Linked DNA regions of Homo sapiens: region 1 is linked to region 2. The links are contacts of gene promoters, found by promoter capture Hi-C in human tissues and cell types (Jung and others, 2019). All regions are on one chromosome and are shown on one strand. Each heading gives the region's core, a stretch centred on a gene start or on the middle of the fragment in contact. The rest is flanking DNA. Distances are from core to core; before and after follow the strand shown.

Region 1 (4,317 bases), core at 634-3,133, 530 kb before region 2:
AGAAAAGAGAGAAAAGAAAGGAAGACAGGAAGGAAGGAAGACAGGAAGGAAGGAAGGAAGGAAGGAAGGAAGGAAGGAAGGAAGGAAAATTAAAATGAGACTGAACCTAGAAAAAAGGTAGATTAGCAAAGTGGAACAAGGTTCAAGAGCAAATATTCCCACCAAAGCATGAACAACATTGGAAACTTCAGAGACAAGTGGGATGTGATTAAAAGAAGAGTAGAGAGAACTTGGACAAGAATGGATATCAGAAGTGAAGGATACATATGCACCTTCCAAACCAATGAAAGACATCAACCCACAGATGCAATTGACTCCACACCCTCTAGGCAAAGGAAATACACAGGAAGCAATAATGAGCTACACTGTGGCCTACAAACCAACCACAACGAGAAAGAGTTTAGAGAATGTGGAAACCAAAGAAGCAAGGAAAAGCCTGACAGCTGACATCTCAACACAGGTAAAATGAGATAGACATCAGTGGGGCACCATTTCTAATATGCTGAAAGAAATTTGTCAAACCAGACACCCGTACCTGACAGCAATATTGCCCCCAAATAAAGATGCCTAAATAAAAGTGTAAAGGAAAACAATTAGTTGTTAGCAGCATTGAATTAGAAGAAAAATACTAGAATGAATTCTCAAGTCCACAGGGAAATAATCCCAGATTGAATGCTAGAAATGCAGAAAGGAACAAAGATGAATGCACAAGATAAGCTGTAGGTAAATATTAGTGCATATTGCTTTATGAAGCAATACTAGAAATGTCTCCTGGAGAGTAAAATATGTGTAGAATTAATATGCATGAGAATGGTAATACAAAAGTCAGAAACAGCTAAAAAGAGAATTAAAAGTGTTCTAAAGTATTAGCATTTTGTGGGAGGGGTTAAAGTAATTAATTGTATCAGAGTATATGATTTAATTATTAGCATAACTACACAGATTTGTATGGCTGTAACTAGCAAGTTCATGGAGATAACAATAAAATAATAAACATATTTAATTCAAAGTCAGTCAAGTAAAGGCAAAAGGAACGTGAGTCAGTTAAGTCAAAACCTAGGAAAAATGAGATGATTGAAACAATTTCAAATTTACTGGTAATTATATTAAATGTAAATGCACGAAATAGAACTTTTTTTTTTTTTTTTTTTTGAGATGGAGTCTCACTCTGTCGCCCATGCTGAGCTGCAGTGGTGCGATCTCGGCTCACCGCAACCTCTCCCTCCCAGGTTCAAGCGATTCTCCTGCCTCAGCCTCCCGAGTAGCTGGGATTACAGGTGCATGCCACCACACCAGGGTAAGTTTTGTATTTTTAGTAGAAATGGGGTTTCACCATGTTGGCCAGGCTGGTCTCGAACTCTTGACCTCAGGTGATCTACCTGCCTTGGTCTCCCAAAGTGCTGGGATTATAGGCGTAAGCCACCTCTCCCGGCCAAAGTAGTAATTTCTTTGCAACAACTGTGTGATATATTCTATAGGATTGTGAATAAAAGTTTTGGGCTTTCTTTTCTTAAAGAACATTTAAATGGTCTTTAGTTGTTGTTATTAAATCAAATATTACGTGAACATTTATGTACATAGACAATTCCATTCCTATTTCTATAGAAAGTATTCAAAGATGTTTGGAAAACTGGGAGAAAAAGGGAAACATATCTAAAATGCTGATATTAACTGTAAATACCACCCCGCCACACACACATACACACGTATTCAATTCTTTCTCTACTAACACTCTGTGTAGGTAACACCACATTGGTTTCTGTATAAAGATTTAGAAATGCCTCAAATCCAATGGGCGGAGACAGGGTGTTCCCTGTGGATTATCCACTGATTGCATTATCACTCGCTTTCTCTATAAAAAGGGGAACCAGATGCAGAAGTCACTGCATTTTCCGGCAAGCCAAGGGTTGTCTGCATCTCAAGAGTGGGGTCAGCAAGAGAAACTCTACGGCTATGGGAGAGCCTGCGTTCACCTCTTTTCCGAGCCCACCTGTTCTGGTGAGTACGGGATATTTATTGATTACAGGAATGTCCATATGTGTCCTTTTTCCTTCTGTAAGACAGCTTTACAGTTAGCAGTGGGTTGTTCTTAAAACTGGATGTTGTGGAAAGTTATACCTCAGGTGGTAATATCTGTTGAATAATGTTCAAAGTATTCTCATTTTTGCCCATGAAACTGTATGGGGATAATAGCTTTGAATTTTTTTTTAAAAATCCAACATCACTAGGAAAGGGAAGAAGTATGATTTGGCCTTGCAGTCTTCAAATTGTCTCCTTCTCTGGAAAGCTCCTGAACCAGAAATTGCTTGGTCCGTTTTTTTAAAAAAACAAAAAACAAAAAAAATTAGTTCTCTGGTAAAATTTCATGATGAGTTGCTTATTCCCTAAACTCACTGTCACGATTCATTGTAGTGAATTTCTTTTCTGTTTCTCTGTTTCTCCTCCTTCCATCCCTCTCTGTCACTCCCTTCTTCTTCATCATGGAACTTACTTATATCTGATATTCCACCAGAAATTTGTTTTTAGTGCGTTTATTATGTCTTCCTTCTCACCAAGATGAAAATCAACAGAGTGGTGATTTATGAAGTTTACTTCTGGATCAGGGGTTCTACTGCACAGCTTGGCACATCATAAGTGCCCCGTAACTAAGGGGACTAAATAATTTTCCCTCCAAAGGGGAACATCTTGGGTCAGTATTAATCTTTATGCCAGGGGTACTGTAAGGGGTAGTATTAATCTTTATGCCAGGACAACGAAAAATGAAATGAGGAGGACAGAAACAAAGGCTTTAAAATGGAAAGTGCACTGATGAGGTTTGTGGGGGAAACAGCTTTATGAGACTAGAGTCTTCCAATTGAGTTAGAGCAAGAAAGGACGTCAAATCTTAGGAGGCGCTTGATCATCTTTCTCAGTATGTCATCAAAAGATTCTCTCATGGTATACCTCTAGTTAATTGAGCTTATTAGAAACAGAAAGCAACATGGTGTTTCTGAGGTTTTTCTTCATGAGCAGGAGGTGTTCAGGTGAAGGTGGGATCTGGGTGTGGCAGTGAGTATTTAAGGTGGCGAGTGCAGGATTTCTTTGGAAACCAGAGAGTCAAGGAGCTATGAAAATGACGTTGTGTCCTGAAGCACAGCAGAAAGAGATACAGAGAAGCGTGAGGTCTTGGTGAACAGGGAAGTCTGGGATCCCGGTGTCCTGTTGGGGATGGGTTAGGAGGCACCACCAGCATCTGTGTAGCTGACAGTGGCAGGGAAGAGAAGAGAGGGGTGTCCTCTGAGGAGGATGAGGAGGGACAAGGTCTGGAACTGACCCTGGGTCATGACCTTGAGCATTTAGTCCTTGACTCGCATCAGCCCGATGAGGTCCCAGGACCCAGTGTCAATGCCTGGAGCTCCTGCCAGCAGCATCAGGGTCACACGGAGAAATGCAGACTCTAGGGTCCACCCCAGACTTACTTGGGTTCAGGTCCACATATCTGACTTTAGCAAGCCCTGCAGGGGCTGAGGATGTACACTGCCATTTGAGACACATTTCCCCAGAAAGAGAGGCTGGTGGGAAGATTCCACTGAGCTGAGAGAAGCCCCCCACAGCTGATCTTCTCCTGTCTCCAATTGGTTGAAATTTCACATTTTCTTTTCTTTTCTTTTGAAAGGGGAAGCTCAAAAGAAACATGATGCCCTGGGCTTTACAGAAGAAACGAGAAATCCACATGGCCAAGGCCCATCGGAGACGAGCTGCGAGGTCTGCTCTCCCCATGAGACTCACCAGCTGCATCTTCCGGAGGCCGGTGACAAGGATCAGGTCTCATCCTGACAACCAGGTCAGACGCAGAAAAGGGGACGAGCACCTGGAGAAGCCGCAGCAACTCTGCGCCTACCGGAGACTGCAGGCCCTGCAGCCCTGCAGCAGCCAAGGAGAAGGTTCAAGTCCACTGCATTTGGAGAGCGTCTTAAGTATCCTTGCACCGGGGACGGCCGGTGAATCTCTGGACAGGGCTGGTGCTGAGCGTGTGCGCAGCCCGCTTGAGCCCACCCCTGGGCGGTTTCCAGCTGTGGCAGGGGGGCCAACCCCAGGAATGGGTTGTCAGCTCCCACCGCCCCTCTCTGGCCAATTGGTGACTCCTGCAGATATCCGGAGACAGGCCAGGAGGGTGAAGAAAGCCAGGGAGAGACTGGCCAAGGCCTTGCAGGCAGACAGGCTGGCCAGGCAGGCAGAAATGCTGACATGTAGATGAAGCGCAGTCCTGGGCTTTCGGTCCCTTTCTTTTAATGCCCATCCTCATTCCTACTCTGAATTGTCACACTTTTCCCTTCC
Region 2 (4,431 bases), core at 409-2,908:
ACCTGAAGCCTACGCTTCCCTTCCCTCCCAACTAAAGAACAGAGACCGCACACACACACACACAAACACACAAACACACGAACACAAACACAAACGAACACACACACGAACACCCACATTAACACACAGACACACGAACAAACACGAACACACACACGAACGCAAACACAAACACACACAAACACCCACACGAACACACACAGACACACACGAACACAAATATCCAAACACACCCACATGAACACAAACACCCACACGAACGAACAAACACAAACACCCACACGAACACACACCCACACGAACACAAACACACCCACGAACACACACACATACGCACCCCCACACGAACACACACACACGAACACAAACACCCACACAAACACGAACACACACACACACACACACACACACACACACGAAGCTGGTGGCTCAACCTGCCCCAAGGACAGATCTCCAAGAATTCAGGAGGGAAAAGCGATCCCTCTTCTTTCCAGCCCCCTTGGGGGTATTCCCCTGGGGGTCTTGAAAGGGAGAGGGGTACCTCAGATGTTGGGGATAAGGCTCTTTGGGAGTTAGCAAAGGAACTGGGGGTCTCCTTGGCGGTCCCAGATAAAGAGGAAGTGCCCCCCTCGGATCGGGGATGGAAAAAAGGTTCCCCCCAGAGATGCAGAGCTTGTGGGGGTGCGGGGTAAAAAGAGGTGCCCTCAATGTCCTAAGTCCTACATAGAGAAAGGAAGCCGTCGAGGGTTGGAGAACCGCGGAGGGTCCCCCGTCCAGGGTGCAGATGGGGTGCCTTGGGAATGCGGAATGAAGAGGGGTGCCCCCACCCACTGCCACATGGAGGGAAGCCAGCCTTTCTCCGACCCGGGGTGCAGAAGACGTATCCCTGAGGGGTTGAGGACTGTGGGGGTCTCCTCCTCCTGGCCTGGGGTGCTGATGGGGTCTCGGGATGCGGAATGAAAGGGGTGCCCTCCCGTGCAAGACGGAGAAGGAGAGCCCTTGGAGGTCCAAAAAGAACTTGTGGGGGTCTCCTCTCCCCCTCCCGGGATACAGATAGGGTCTCGTAGCGGGCGCAGGATGAAAGGGGTGCCCCCCGGACTAGAAGAAGGAGACCCTTGGGGGGTCCAAAAAGAACTGTTGGGCGGTCTCCTCCCCGCCCCCGGCCTGGGGTACAGATGAGGTGTCGTAGGGGTGCGGGATGAAAGGTGTGCCCCCCCGGCCTCGGTGCTAGATGGAGAATGGGAGCCCCGGTGGGTCTCCTCTCCCCGGCCGGGAGTGTAGAACAGGTGTCCCTGGGGGTGCGGGAGGGAGAAGGGAGTCCCAGAGGGGCGGTAGGGGTCTCCCGCGAGACCAGCTACCGAGGGTCGGGGCACGTCTCACCTGCCGCAGGTCCAAGAGGCCGGCGGGATCGTCGGGCGAAAGCTCGGGACCCTCGCGGAGTCTCGGGCTGGCCGCGGAGCCGGGCGAGGCGCGAGCCCCGGACACGGCCCAGGGGCAGGCGAGGAAGACGGCGCAGGCGGCAGCGAGCAGCAGCAGCAGCAGCAGCCCCGCGACCAGGGCCCAAGGCAGTACGCGGCAGGCGCGAGCGCGGGGCGCGGGAGGCCACGGGGCTTCGGGGTCCAGTGAAGCGTCAGAGGCGTATTCCATGACGAGAGACTGCGGGAAGACACAGCGCGCCGCTTTTTATAGCTGCTTGGCTACAAAAGGAGGCCACGCCCCTCCGCCCGCGGCCACGCCCCTCCGCCCGCGGCCACGCCCCTTCCCAGCCCAGAGCCTTTCCCCTCGTCCCCGTGACTCTGCGGAATTTTCTCCACTCGGATCTCTCTCCGCTTTTCGCTCTCCTTTCCGTTTCCGGCCTTCCAAGCTCGGCTCCAGGTTCCTTTCTCCCTGCTGTCTCTCCATCGCCCTGGTTCTCCCTCTCTGCCGCTCTTTCCCGGTATCTCTGTGGGTCTCTTGCTGACTCAGTCTCCTTTGCTCTCTGTGTCTCCCCGTTAACGTCTTTCTCTGTCTCTGTTGATTGCCTCTGCAGTGGGTGGAAAGAGATCTTTCTCTCTCTCTGCCAATTTATGTCTATGCGTGCCTCTGTGCCTGTATTATCTCTGTCTCTGTCTCTCTCTATCTCTGTCTCTAATTCTCTCTCCCTGTCTCTGGCTCTGTTATCTCTGTCTCTGTATCTCTCTGTCTAACTCTGTCTCTGGCTGTTATCTCTGTCTCTCATTGTATCTCTCTCTGACTCTCTCTCCCTGTCTCTGGCTCTGTTATCACTGGCTCTGTCTCTCTATCTGTCTTCTCTCTCTCTGCCTCTGACTCTCTCTCCCCATGTCTGGCTCTGTTATCTCTGTCTATATATCTCTCTCTGTCTCTGACTCTCTCTCCCTATCTCTGGCTCCGTTATCTCTGTCTCTGTATCTGTCTCTGGCTCTGTTATCTCTGTCTCTCTATCTCTGTCTCTGACTGTCTCTGGCTCTGTTATCTTTCTCCCTCTCTCTGCTTCTGTTATCTCTGTCGCTGTCTCTGGCTGTGACTCTCTCTCTCTGTCTCTGTGTCTGGCTCTCTCTGTCTCTGTCTCTGACTCTGTCTCTGGCTCTGTTATCTCTGTCTCTATGTCTCTGTCTCTGTGTCTCTCTCCCTGTCTCTGGCTCTTTTATCTATGTCTGTCTGTCTCTTTCTCTCTGTCTCTGACTCTCCCTATCTCTGGCTCTGTTATCTCTGTGTCTGTCTCTCTGTCTCTGACACTCTCTCCCTGTCTCTGGCTCTGCTATCTCTGTCTCTGTATCTCTCTTTGTCTCTGCCTCTCCCTGTCTCTGGCTCTTTTATCTATGTCTGTCTTGTGTCTCTTTCTCTCTGTCTCTGACTCTCCCTATCTCTGGCTCTGTTATCTCTGTGTCTGTCTCTGTCTCTGACACTCTCTCCCTGTCTCTGGCTCTGTTATCTCTGTCTCTGTCTCTCTGTCTCTGGCTCTGTTATCTCTGTCTCTGTATCTCTCTTTGTCTCTGCCTCTCCCTGTCTCTGGCTCTTTTATCTGTGTCAGTCTGTGTGTTTCTTTCTCTCTGTCTCTGACTCTCCCTATCTCTGGCTCCGTTATCTCTGTCTCTCTCCATCTCTGACTCCCTCTCTTTATGCATCTCTGTGTCTCTCCCTGTCTCTGTATGTCTCTGGCTCTCACTCTTTCTGTCTCTCTCCCTGTTTCTCTCTGTCTCTGATTCCCTCTGTCTCTCTCTGACTCTCTGTCTCTCCCTGTCTCTCTCCTTTTCCTTCTTTAGTCTCTCTTTGTCTCCTTCCCCTCCTCTCAGCACCCCCTAGCCCCCCATCACTAGGACTCCCCCGGGTTCCCCCACATCCAGCACTTCCTAAGAAGGGTCAGGCTTCAGCCAAGCCTCAACCACCCTCACTCCTGGAGCATCTGCCCCCTGATCCCCAACCCCCCAGTGGAACCCTGAGTGTCATGCTCAGCCCTCCTGGCCACCTTCCCCGGGACCCCTGGGCCTTCCCTGGCCTGCCCCCACCCACCCACTGGATGGTTCCCGGCAGGAGCCCCTCGGGACCCTACAAGCAGAAGCTCGGAGAGTCCAGGTGGAGAAATTCCCCTTGCAAGAAAGGGACAGTGTTGAGCGAGTTGGAGGAAACACATTTCCCATCTGCTCTGGCCTGCTGGAGGCGGCCAATCCGGGGCTGGGAGGATGGGCCAAGAAGCGGTGAAAACTTGGCCCCAAAAGAGGAAGCACTCCCAGATGGAGAGGGACGTGACCCGGGGAAAGCCCTTGGCTGGTGTTGAAGTCCTGGTCTGCCCAGACCAGTGTGGGTCCACAATGGCCAACTCCCTTCCCATCTCCCAGCCCCATGGGAGATGGGAGGGTAGACCACGCCTTTCATCCCTCTGCTAGCAGAAGTCAACAGCCCATAAAATAAAGGGACTTTTGTTTTGCTTTCAGATACAAGGTCTTGCTCTGTCGCCCAAGCTGGAGTGCAGTGGCACGATCATAGCCCACTGCAGCCTCCAATCCTGGGTTCAAGCCATCCTCCTGTCTTAGACTCCTGAATAGCTGGAACTACAGGCACATACCACCATGCCTACCAATTTTTTTTTTTAATTTTTTACTTTTTATAGAGACAGGGTCTTGCTATGTTGCTCAGCTGGTCTCAAACTCCTGGACTCAAGCAATGCTCCTGTCTTGGCCTCTCAGCACTGTGATGCCAGTCATGCGTTACCGTGCCCAGTCATAAGGTAGACTTCTCATTCAACAGAACAAGTATCTTCCAGGTCAGCACTGTGTCTGATCCTGTATTGGGCCTCCCTGGGGGATTGCAGAGAAAACAGTAATGTTACTGGCTAGTGTTGAAGGAGCATTACCAAATGCTAAACACTTCCTATATACGGTTTGGGTACTCCACGTGTGAGGCCCGACCCAGCAACAGGGCCACTATCAATTA

Evidence for each region. The method cuts DNA at HindIII sites, captures the fragments that hold promoters and counts their contacts. A contact is called where the count stands out against the background at its distance.
Region 1: the fragment with the promoter of MBD3L3 here is called in contact with the fragment with the promoter of TNFSF9 in region 2 in 1 of the 25 tissues and cell types used here (heart left ventricle).

The regions. Positions count from the first base shown.
Region 1 is chr19:7,056,242-7,060,558 of GRCh38, reverse strand. MBD3L3 (methyl-CpG binding domain protein 3 like 3) reads left to right here and starts at 1,883. Exons shown (of 2, transcript NM_001164425.4): 1 at 1,883-1,998; 2 at 3,656-4,317. The coding sequence starts at 1,954. The coding sequence ends at 4,237. The HindIII fragment of the contact is 21,543 bases long and covers 1-3,400 here.
Region 2 is chr19:6,528,253-6,532,683 of GRCh38, reverse strand. It overlaps TNFSF9 (TNF superfamily member 9), which reads right to left and starts at 1,658. Exons shown (of 3, transcript NM_003811.4): 1 at 1,381-1,658. The coding sequence starts at 1,647. RefSeq lists enhancers at 1-279, 881-980, 3,751-4,010 and silencers at 1,391-1,460, 1,601-1,830. The HindIII fragment of the contact is 13,420 bases long and covers 1-1,911 here.